4 separate regions of the Homo sapiens genome follow, and all the other regions are linked to region 2. Evidence: promoter capture Hi-C in 16 types of primary human blood cells and fetal thymus (Javierre and others, 2016). All regions are on one chromosome and are shown on one strand. The core of a region is centred on a gene start or on the middle of the fragment in contact, and the rest is flanking DNA. Distances in the headings are between cores, read along the strand shown. Region 1 holds the start of PIK3R1 (phosphoinositide-3-kinase regulatory subunit 1). Region 2 holds the start of MAST4-AS1 (MAST4 antisense RNA 1). Region 3 overlaps LINC02219 (long intergenic non-protein coding RNA 2219). Region 4 holds the start of ERBIN (erbb2 interacting protein).

Region 1 (2,700 bases), core at 194-2,693, 1.2 Mb before region 2:
CCTCATCACACCAAAATGACAATCTTATGTTGCATTCAAAACCCGGAACTGCTTTATCCATTGGTACTTCGCACTGGCTGACAAAGAGGAAAAGAAGAGAAAAAAGAAAAAAAACCTAAAATCATGAAGCCCCCAAATAAAGAGCAGACTCACACTCGGACACCAACAGCGCTGCAGCTCAAGGGATTAACGGTGGAAGTGAGACCTTTCCGATATTAATAGCGCCCCGGGAAACAGAAGAATTCCCCCAAACCCAGTTGACACACATTCTGCATTCAACACGTAACAGCCATTCTGCATATATCCTTGCATTTCAGGCTCCAATTCTGGTTATCAAAGTGTATTTCTGTACAGGAGTGCCTGGCCAGAGGTTTTCTGTTCTCTTTGTCTTGTGATCTGAGGGGCAGTTTCTGAGCTTAGGTTAGAGCTGTGGTTTCCAGAGAATTGCCCACGATATTTTAGCTCCGGGTTGCAGGCTCCCTGGCTCTCCCCAGCCGGCTCCATATTGCTGGGCAGGTCCCTCCCGCCTCGCCCCACGTTCCAAAAGCTGGATTTCCGGGCGGTTCCAAGACCCCACTAAATATGCCTCCAACAACCTGCCCAAGCTTGGCTGGCAATAAACGCTGAGTTAGGGCCCCAGCGACCAACCGCCCCGAGGCGCACTTCCCCCACCCCGGAAGAGGAGGGCGGCAAACTTCGGAAGGCGGGGGTTAGGGGACGAGCTCCGGGGACCACCGCCGCCTCGCCCGCCCCGGGAAGGGCCCGGGCAGCGACCCTGGCTGCAGCTGGAGGGCCACGGGGGAAGGGAGCGCTCCTTCCCGCAACACGAAGGCAGCGGCCAGGGCGCTCTCCTCCGGTGAGGGGCCCCGGAAAACTGCAGCAAGGCGACAGCGGGGACCCTCCGAAGTGTGCGGTGACGGAGGGTGGGAGGAAGCCCGAGCTCGTCGGCAACTCCGGGGGCAAATGCGACCGGCGGCGTGCAGGACCAGCTCGCAGGAGGACGGGGGAAACGGGAGTCAGGATGGCGGGGATCTCACAGGACGCCGGCCGCGCGCGGGGGTAGTGCTGCCCGGCGGCCAGGAGATGCCGGAGGCGGGGAGGGCCGGTGGCCAGCCCGCTTCCCCCCGGCGGGGCTCTGCAGAAGGAGAAGCCGCTGCCAGTGACAGGAAGAGAGTCGCGGCAGCCGTGCACACATGCACCGCCTCCCCCGCCCGAGCACACACACCCGGGGCTGCTGCTGCCTACCTACCCCGCCCGCCGGCTTCCTTCCTCTGCGGGGCCCGCGCTGCAGCGGTGGCCTCCTGCCCGCTCGGTTCCGACCGGCCTCCAGCCCGGCTGCGACCCGCCGGCCGTGCCCGATCCGTGCTTGCCGTCTCCGACAGCTAGCCTGCCGCCCTCGCCGCTGCCGCTGCTTCCTCCAACTCCGCTCCAGCTGCTGGCGACTCCTCTCCGTGCGCCCGCAGCTCCAGCGCCCGGCGCTAGCCCCGCCTCCGGCCCGGCCCCGCGCGCCCCGCCCCCGAGCCCACACCAACCAGAGCCCGCGGCTCCGCCCCTTTCCGTCCGCACGGCTCGGGCCTCCGAGCCGGCGGCTGGCAGTGGGGGAGCGAGCTCAGGCCTGGCGGACCCTTCCTGCCACCGCCCTCGCCTTCCGCCCCCCAGCCGCGGGGATGCCCCGGGCGGCCGTGCCGCGCGCTGCCTCCGCTGCGGAGTGCTCTGGCTCTACACGTCCCGGGCCCGCCCGGCTGCTGGGCGTCTCCCAGCGCAGAGGCGGAGGGGTTCGGGGAGGTCGAAGACAAGTTCAGACCTCCCTGGAGGCTGGCTGCGTCTCTAATCCGAGTGTCTTTCAGCCAACCCCAGGCTTTTTCGAGCCCCTAGCGCCCCAGCAGAGTGGCTGGGGTGGGGAGGACTCGGATTCCAGAGCTCGCCAAAGCGGAGAGGCCCTGCAATTCCTGGTCTCGCCAGCACTGCCTTCCGAGTGGGCGGAAAACCCGCGGCACCCGCCTGGCGCTCCGGGGGTGAAGGAGGGGTGAAAGGGTGAACCGGAGGGACGGGCGCCCGCAGCCTGCCGCTGGCTAACTCCGGCAGCCTGGCACCGCCGCCTCCGGGAGCCAGGCGGACCCGCGAGAAGGGAAGAGAGTTTTCTGAGGGCGTACGCTGGCTGATGGCTTCTAGTCCTGAGATGACAGAGCAAATGGAGGTCACTCAGGCAGACCACGGGCCCCTCGGCGTTCGCGGAGTCGGGGGCGGGGTTGGCGGGGGGTGGGGTTGGCGCGGGCGGGGGGGGCGGGGAAGCGCAGGTGAATTACATTGTCTCTTAAAGGTGTTAGTTTTGAAATGCATATTCTTCAAGTAATAATTACCTAAGTTGCTCCAGAAAAATTTGATGTTGGTTCAAACCTTCCACTGATGGTAAGATGGAATGCCAGCACCACGTGTGCCACTCTTTCATATTAAAACATGTGAGAATCTGCTTCCTAAAAGCTCTTTCCAGATTCTCCTTTCTGCAGCTTAAAGCCCTGCACCCGCCCACCCTGTTTGCCTAAAGCCCTTTTATAGTTCCCTCCCAGTTTCCTTGCAAGAAAACTCTTAAAAACAAACACACAAAACCTAAGCACTTGGCCTCTGTAAAACGTTGAATTTGGTGGTTTATTCTTGTGGACGTTGGAAGTAGAGGGAAGAACGTCCTAAAATTCATCGCTT
Region 2 (2,700 bases), core at 14-2,513:
GATAAACATGATCAGGTCAAAGGGACAGACTTAGACAAAGTATCTCCTCCTCTTTCCCTTTTTCTCCCCCACCTCTCACAAGGAAATGTCTTATTATCCACATTTCAAAAGGAGAAAACCTATGAGAAGCACATTTATCAGGGTTACCCAGGAAACCACAAGGACGAAGAAATACCTGAAACAGTACCCCCTCCCCTAGCGGGGCATAAACTTTTCAAAGTGTCACCCAATACACAAAACCCCAGCTCCTGAGGGGCTCAGGCAGCTCCGCCTGTGGGCCCCTGGGAAGTGAAAGCATTCCCTCTCCAGGCAGAGATCCCCGCGTTTTTACCTTTGTGTTCGCCGAAGCCTGTTCCCACTCCTCAAATGAGGCAAAGTAAAGTTTGAGAGCACAGTCCAAAAATTGGGGTCAGACATATCCATTTCTTTCTCTCTTCAATTCACTGTGGGTTCAAGGCCATATGACTAAAATGGGGAGAGGTAAAAAAAAGGAAGAAAGACAAGGCCAAAAATAAAAAAAAAATCCCAATTATCTACTCACTCCCTCCAGAGAAAATGTGATGGGAACTGTGATCTCAAGAACAACTTGGAGCATGTCTGAGAAGTACCCGTCCCGTCCTAGCCTTTAATTAACACACAGCCTCCTCTCAAAGGTCCGGGAAACTGATTTCCTCTCGGGTCTGCCCTCTCCTAGTCAGGCTCGGCCAGCTATAAACAGTAATTACATGAGTTGAGCCGTGCGTTCTGCTCAAAGCGCTGTCTGTGGGATTCAGTCGGAGGTACTTTGTCATCTGTTTGGCAGATACCACTCGCCGCTTCTGCGAGGGGCGGGGGAGACGACTATTTTGAGGCTTTGGTTCCGGAGGCTGTTGCTTATCAGCAAAACCATTCACATCCGAACATGCCCAGTGCCGAGTTTCCTTTTGGTATCTACATACAAGGAAAAGAATTTGAATAGAAAAAGCTGCTCTTGCCCTCCCCTCCTGAAAAAAGCGGAAACTTAAAAGCACTTTTAAAAAATGGGCCTATTGGAGGACTTGAACCTGACACCTTTGTGGACCCTTCCAGGGTCCGGCTGGGAGGAGGCGGCAGGGCCTTGTCCCTGGACAGCTTGGTGGCCGCGCCCCCAGCTTTCCTGCATCCCCCACCCCCCACCAGCCCCGGCCGCGCCTGAGGAGCGGGGGCTCACGGGAAAGGGAGCAGGCGGCCGCGGCGCGACCCCAGCCGGTGCCGGGACAGCCCCGCAGCCTGGGCCGCCGCTCCCCCTCCCCGGAGCCCGGAATGGATCCGTCCCGGAAATAAATAAATAAACCCGCGGCTGCTCCGGGTGTGTGCTGCGCGCACCTGAGGCCGACCTGTGATTCACCGCGGGAGGGATGGCAGTGACAACGCTCCGGGGAAGTCCACAGTGACTCCTCCGCCAGGACGCCGCTGGTTGTATAGGAAAAGCACGCGGACGGGAAGCCACACTCACCGAAAACCTCAGTAAACTAAATTTATGAGTTTACATCTGTTCCATCAATGACCACGGTGCACACCTGTTTGGCTTCATGGCCGGCAACTACAGATCTAGGTAATGGTGAGCCCCGATGTGGAAAGACACTACCTGGCATTTATGTGGCAAATGCTACAAGTATTGCCCCTTCAAGTACGTTAGACCTTGAAAGGGCAGAATGAAGGGGGCTGAATGTTCTTGTTATTCATTTTGAAGAAAGGCATGGTATTTAAATATCTCCCCCTATCCATGAATGTTTGTATAAAGTACATAAAGAAAAAATATAATTTAAATTAGCTGCCTTAAGTCTGGTGTAATATGGCAAGAAATACTAAATCAAAAAAGTATATATTCAGCAAAAAATACATCTAAAAATGGCTTAGTCCATGCAGTAAATACCAGGAACAAACTCGCTTACAAAAATGGGAGGATAAAGAGAAGGAAGAGGGGGTGTAAGCTGACAAGGTAGGCGGGGTAAACAAAAAGAAGCCTGCTGTGGGATCTTCTTTATCTAATTCTTGTGGCCCACATTAATATTTTCACACCAAGGACTCCAAGAGTTTTGGATGATGTTTCATGTCCAAGGCTTTCGTATGCGTTATCTCCTCACATTCTTACAGAGCCTCCACAGATCCTTGCAACCCACAGAGGTAGACAAAGAAGGCATTATTTTCTCAATTTTACATTTGGGACTTTATCCCAAACATTCAGGGACACTAAATGACAAAACACACTTCAATAGATATTAATGAGCTTGGTCCAGCATTTTTGCCCCATGCTCTTCTTTTAAAAAATGTTTCTAAGTATTGCAAAAGATGTTTTGAAGGCTGACACAAAAGAGTGTCCCTGTGCTCCGGAGCAGTTTCTAGACCTCAGCACTGTTGACATAGGCTGGATAATTCTTTGTCTGAGGAGCTTTCTTGAGCATTGGAGGATGTTTAGCAACATTGCTGACCTCGACCTACTAGATGCCAGTGCTGACAATTAAAAATGTCTGAGGACATTGCCAAATGTCCCTTGGGAGGTAAAATCACCCCTGGTTGGGAACCACTGCTCCAGATAAAGGCTTCTCTGAGAGGGGTGATACAGAGCACTGGTTTAGAGCAAAAATTTTGGGTCTGAATTCTGGATACAACACTTACTATGACCTTAAATCTCTTCTCATTTTCCCCAGCTGCAATATGGGGTCCATAATAGGACCAACC
Region 3 (2,700 bases), core at 37-2,536, 1.2 Mb before region 2:
AGGATTTTAGGTTTTGTACTGAAAGAGTTAAGATTGTTTCCCTCTGATGTCTGAGCTCTAGGGCTTAAACCTCAGGAGCTGTCACTTGTCATATTTTTGTTCATGTTAAGAAGAAAAGTGATGGGAGCTAGTTTCTGAGAACAGAGAAAGAAAAACAAAGCAGATGCACAAGAGAAGAAGAGCTGGGGAGAGGGAACTGTGAAGTCATGAGTTCGTGATTCTAGCTTTTCCTTAACTCTAGCCACAGATTTATTCTTATATTCCATAAGATACCTTTATATTCTTATAATAATGTTATTTTTGTTTAAACTCATTGGAGTGTGGTTTCTGTTACTTGGCATTAAATATCTTCAGAAATACATAATAGACCGGGTGCAGTGGCTCACGCCTGTAATCCCAGCACTTTGGGAGGCTGAGGTGGATGGATCACCTGAGGTCAGGCATTCAAGACCAGCCTGGCCAACATGGTGAAACCCTGTCTCCACTAAAAATACAAAAAATTAGCTGGGGGTGGTGGCGGGTGTTTGTAATTCCAGCTACTCGGCAGGCTGAGGCAGGAGAATTGCTTGAACCCAGGAGACGGAGGTTGCATTGAGCCGAGATAACACTACTGCACTCCAGCCCAGGTGACAGAGTAAGACTCTGTCTCCAAAAAAAAAAAAAAAAAAGGAAATACATAATATCAAAAATTTTAAAGAGAAGATGAAACAAATAGTTTTGCTAAGAAAGTAGTTATACTTTATGAGAAGTTTATTTTCTTATCAATAAGCTTCTTCAAGTTACAATCGAGGGCTGATTAAGTAGGCCAATGACACGGACTTAGCATGTTCAATAGTTCAAGATTGAGTGAGTTCAAAGGTATTTTTATTGTTGCTTTTGTGGTTATTGTTGCTGTTGTGTGTTTTAATGAATAATCCTTAGCAAGGACTGGTAAATGAAGTACGGGTGACCTACAGAAAAGAGAGGTAAAGAACATGCATGACAAAATGAAAGCAAACCTCACATGCCCAAATGAAAACGTACCCTCACTCTAAACATTTCTGATTCTAGTCCTCGTCCCTGTATCAACAAGTGGCACAATTATCCATCTTGTGTGAGCAGAACACTGATAGTCATTTGCTCTCTTTTTTCCCATTATAGAATCCATCATTTCATCATTCTGCCAGTCTCAGTGTTTTAACCAACTAAAAATCTTGTAAATATATGTATGTTTTTCATCTCCGTTGATGCTACCCTAATCCTCACCTGCACCATTTATCAATAGCAGTCACTGGCTAGACACAGTGGCTCATGTCTATAATCCCAGCACTTTGGGAGGCCGAGGCGGGTGGATAACCTGAGGTCAGGAGTTTGAGACCAGCCTGGCCAACATGGCGAAACCCCATCTCTACTAAAAATGTGAAAACTAGCTGGGCGTGGTGGCAGGCGCCTGTAATCCCAGCTACTTGGGAGGCTGAGGCAGGAGAATCACTTGAACCAAGGAGGCAGAGGTTGCAGTGAGCCGAGATTGTGAGATTGCACTCCAGACTGGATGACAAGAGGGAAACTCCATCTCAAAAAAATAAAAATAAAAAAATAGTTGTCACTGAATTGGTCTCCTTTTTGAACTCTCAATCACTAGCATTGATAACTCCATGGTTCTAGCCAGAGGATGCTTTTTGAAATGTAAATCTGGAAATGGCTTCCAACTCCCTCTAAAGATTCATAGCATACATATTATCTTCAAACATTTTAGTGACTTCTCATTGCTATAGGTCAATGATTCTCACCCTTGTTTTCATGATAAAATCACCTGAAAGCTTTAAAAAAAATACTTATGCCTGGTTCTCACTTCCAGAAGTTTGGATTTGATGGTTCTGGAATGGGATCCTTTAATCAGTATTTTAAAATGCTTTGTAGGTGGTTCTGACATGTAGCCGAAGTTGAAAATAACTGCTCTAGGCATACAGGCCAGAATCCTGATCACAGGCTTACACAATCTTGCCCCCGCTTACTTCTCTTCGCTCGTCACATATCACACCCCCATCCTCTGTTCTCCAGCCATGCTGGTCTTCTTTCGGTTCCTCAAAATCACCACACTCCTTCCTGCTGCTGACTGGGCTTCTGAGCATGTTCTTTCTGTGGAGAACATCCCTGCTTCTTCCGATCTCAGCTCTGCACCACTTCCTTAGGGAAGCCTTCCTTGATCTCTCTGACTAGGTAAATTCCAGGTCCTGGGGTCATCAAACTCTGCACCTTTTCCTTGTGGCATTTGTCACAGTATAGTTTTATATTTATATGTAACTCTTTGAATAATGTTTGTCTTCCCCACTAGAGTATAAACTCCGTGAGGGCAGGGACCATGTTGCCTTTACTCTCCACTGTTATCTCTGCTCTCTATTCTACATTGGGAATGAAGGAGACTCTCTATGTGTTGAGTGATCAAGTGAGCAGTTCGTGATGGGGAGGGTAATGATTACTGAGGGTATTACCGAGGGTAGCCCAGCTGGTTGAGGAATTAAAATTCAGCACCGGCCAGGCGTGGTAGCTCATGCCTGTAATCACAGCACTTTGGGAGGCCAAGGCGGGTGTATCACCTGAGGTCAGGAGTTCGGGACCAGCCTGGTAAACATGGAGAAACCCCCCTCTCTCCTAAAAATACAAAAATTACCTGGGCATGGTGGCCTGCGCCTGTAATCCCAGCTACTCGGGAGGCTGAGG
Region 4 (2,700 bases), core at 54-2,553, 1.1 Mb after region 2:
ACTGAAAAAAACTTTGGGTTTACTGCTATCAAAACTAGTCCCCATTGGTTCAGAAGTGTTCATAGCTCTGACTGGTGGAATGTCTGCCATGCTTCATGAATCCTGCCCCCACAGATGTAGGCAGAACCTATCACTATTTATGCAGAACCGACCAAAAACATTTGGGACAACACAAAAATGTAAAGACCATACTACTCGAAAAGCACAGCTTTTTATCACAATCACTGTGATTCCCTTGAAAATCGTTTTAAGCGTTTTACTTCCCCTCCCATCGTCTGTTCTGAACTGTACAGAAGTCCTATTAAACGTCTTACAGGTTGTTAATGTTGTTTAATTATCTCTCCCTATTCTTAGTCCTTACTCCTTTTTTCTTCGTAATGGATCAGTTACAAGAAAAGCCTAGTCGATCCTTGCTTTCAATTAATTAAACAAGTTATACGGCGCTAAACGTCTGAAAAACACACACTACACACAACTAAAGAAATATATTACTCACCCTGAAAAACAACTAAGAATGGCAAGATTTTTTGGTTTCTAAAATCTAACTAAATATACTGATCAGGGTTGGAAATAAAAAAATAAAAATAAATACCTCTATATACAATTAACGCAAGCGCCAATATAATCGGTATGAGTATAAACAAACGCGGCAGCCATCTCAATAACAGCAAATCACTCACTGCAGCGACCAAACTTTCTTCCCAAACAGAAGGTGCCTGGCTGAGCAACTTAATATACACTCTATACGTTCCAGAAAGCCAAAACTTCTGGCCCCTGTGCTGAACAAAGGCAATCGTTCTTCGGATTACTAAAAACTTTTCGTCCCACCGCATTCTTACAACCTCTTCCAAAAAATTCAAAGTCCAGATGGTGGGGGGGGCAGGGGGGAGAAGGGACGCGGTGGGGTGCAGTTCGATTATTTAGCCCCTCAATTATTAACCGCTTCGATATGAGAAAAGGAGGGTTTAGGGCAACTTGGAGAAGAGTGAAAAACACTAAAGAATCATCTCTTTTCCGAGTCACAAAGTCCCATGAACTTTGTGACTCAGAGACACTTTTCGTGAAAATTACCTTTCGGCGGGACACCGTCTCAGGGCAGCTTTTTCAAGGCTTCGCTTGACATGATTTCCTTCCCTTCATCAGTCACTTTGGATCCAGCTGAATATCTCTCTCGGGTGAGAGCGGATGTGGACTGGCCTCCCACAGAAGAAGAGTAGGTGGCTTTGGTGGGGGTTGGGGTGCGGGCTGGCTTCCTGGTCTCGAGTTTTGCAGGAGTTTCCCAGCCCCAACGAGGATCTCCGCCGAAAAAAAAAAAAACAAAACTTTTCACTCGTGACACCGCCCGGAATTGCAGTGCGAAACTCACTTCCTGCCTTGGCGAGAAGCAGGATCCAGCTCCGTCCAGGGGAACCCGGAAAACCAGCTCCGCGCGCACCGGAGAGGGGGAGGGGAGGGGACGGCCGCCGGGAGCCTCGGGTTCCGGGCAACCGGCGCGCCCGGCACACCGGACGGCAGCAGCACCCGGCCGGCGGGGGCGAGGACGCTGCCCGGGCGCTCGGCGAGCCTCGGCCGCGCTAGGCCGCCACCGCTTCCTCTCCGTTGCCCCCAGAGCCGGGCGGCAGGGTTATTGTCTCGATAGCGCTTGCCGCGCCCTTCGTCCGCGACGCCGCTGCCGCCGCCACCCGGAGCCGGAGCCGAGGAGTCGGGCAGGCTCAATAGCGGCCCCCTCCCCGGGCCGTCCGTCGGGCCGTCCGTCCTTCCGTCCGTCCCTCCCCGCTTTCCCTACTCGCCCTCGAACCCTCTTCTCCTCCCTCTCCCGTTTTCCCGCCACCGTCCCTCCGCTGCCCTGCTTGTTCTCCTTCGCCAGCGGCGGTGGCTCCCCGAGACGCGCAGGGGGCGGGAGCAGGAGGCAGCTCCGTCTCCTCACGAGCTTGCGGGGCCGCGGCAGGGGCCGAGACTGCGTCCCGCGCCGCCGCGCCACATTCACTCGAGCGAGAGACGGCGAGGGGAGGGAGGACGGAGGGAGCGGAGAGAAAGGAGGAGGAATGGGGCAGGGGCGGAGGGGAGTTACTGCCTCACAGGCCGCGGCGGCAACAGCGCCACCGCCCCGGCCGCGACGGGTGAAGAGGCTGCGCGCCGCGACTCTGCGGCGGGGGCGGGGGCGGGGCGGCCTCCCGCCGGCTTCGCCCCAACCGCCAACAGCCGGGCAGGAGGCCTGCGCGGGCCAGTCAGCGCGCGGGGGCGGTGCGGGCCGACGTCGGCGGCTGGGGGCAGCGGGCCGGGGGCCGGGGGAGGGGCAGCCGGCGGCCGTGGGTTCGCGTGCAAGGCGCGCCGTGAGGCCCACTCTGGCCCAGGCCCCTCGAGGCCTGCCCGCTGCTCCCTGCCCGCTCCCCGACCCCGCACTCCCGGACTCCCGAGCCCCCCAGGGTGGGGAACGCTGGCAACGCCGACCCTGCTGTCTGCTCGCGGCCCAGCGCCCAGCCAGAGAGATAGAGAGCCCACAGGCCTCCGCCGCGCCGGCCGATGGAGTTTCTTTGTACGACAGTAATCGGTGCACAGGGGTTGTTGGAGTCCAGCCCTGATTTGAAGGCAGCAGGTATCTCTTGCAGCTGCAGCACTCCAACTTCCTCTAATGGCACGGTCAGGTCGCAGGAAACCACAGCGGCAGCGCGGTGCAGCTTCCCACGCCCGCCCTTCGAG

Evidence for each region. Contacts are between HindIII fragments. The CHiCAGO score rates a contact against its expected background, and 5 or more counts as called.
Region 1: the fragment with the promoter of PIK3R1 here is called in contact with the fragment with the promoter of MAST4-AS1 in region 2 in 8 of 17 cell types (naive CD4 T cells, fetal thymus, non-activated CD4 T cells and 5 more); the score reaches 13.3 in naive CD4 T cells.
Region 3: a fragment that was not itself captured here is called in contact with the fragment with the promoter of MAST4-AS1 in region 2 in 1 of 17 cell types (total B cells); the score reaches 5.9 in total B cells.
Region 4: a contact is called between the fragment with the promoter of ERBIN here and the fragment with the promoter of MAST4-AS1 in region 2, in 3 of 17 cell types (total CD4 T cells, fetal thymus and non-activated CD4 T cells). The highest score is 7.0, in total CD4 T cells.

What each region holds. Positions count from the first base shown.
Region 1 is chr5:68,214,499-68,217,198 of GRCh38, reverse strand. It overlaps PIK3R1 (phosphoinositide-3-kinase regulatory subunit 1), which reads right to left and starts at 1,443. Exons shown (of 16, transcript NM_181523.3): 1 at 1,250-1,443. RefSeq lists silencers at 727-1,826, 2,047-2,266. The HindIII fragment of the contact is 2,835 bases long and covers 608-2,700 here.
Region 2 is chr5:67,002,717-67,005,416 of GRCh38, reverse strand. It overlaps MAST4-AS1 (MAST4 antisense RNA 1), which reads left to right and starts at 1,263. Exons shown (of 2, transcript NR_111908.1): 1 at 1,263-1,573. The region is part of intron 4 of MAST4 (microtubule associated serine/threonine kinase family member 4); the gene reads right to left. RefSeq lists a silencer at 1,046-1,385. The HindIII fragment of the contact is 7,419 bases long and covers 1-2,700 here.
Region 3 is chr5:68,196,440-68,199,139 of GRCh38, reverse strand. It overlaps LINC02219 (long intergenic non-protein coding RNA 2219), which reads right to left. Exons shown (of 3, transcript NR_105003.1): 2 at 2,651-2,700; 3 at 733-950. Among named protein-coding and RNA genes, the nearest start is that of LINC02219, 7.9 kb to the right of the region's middle. The HindIII fragment of the contact is 1,030 bases long and covers 772-1,801 here.
Region 4 is chr5:65,925,178-65,927,877 of GRCh38, reverse strand. ERBIN (erbb2 interacting protein) reads right to left here and starts at 1,303. Exons shown (of 26, transcript NM_001253697.2): 1 at 1,072-1,303. RefSeq lists enhancers at 1,150-1,369, 1,330-1,954, 2,579-2,700 and a silencer at 1,450-2,539. The HindIII fragment of the contact is 7,086 bases long and covers 1-2,700 here.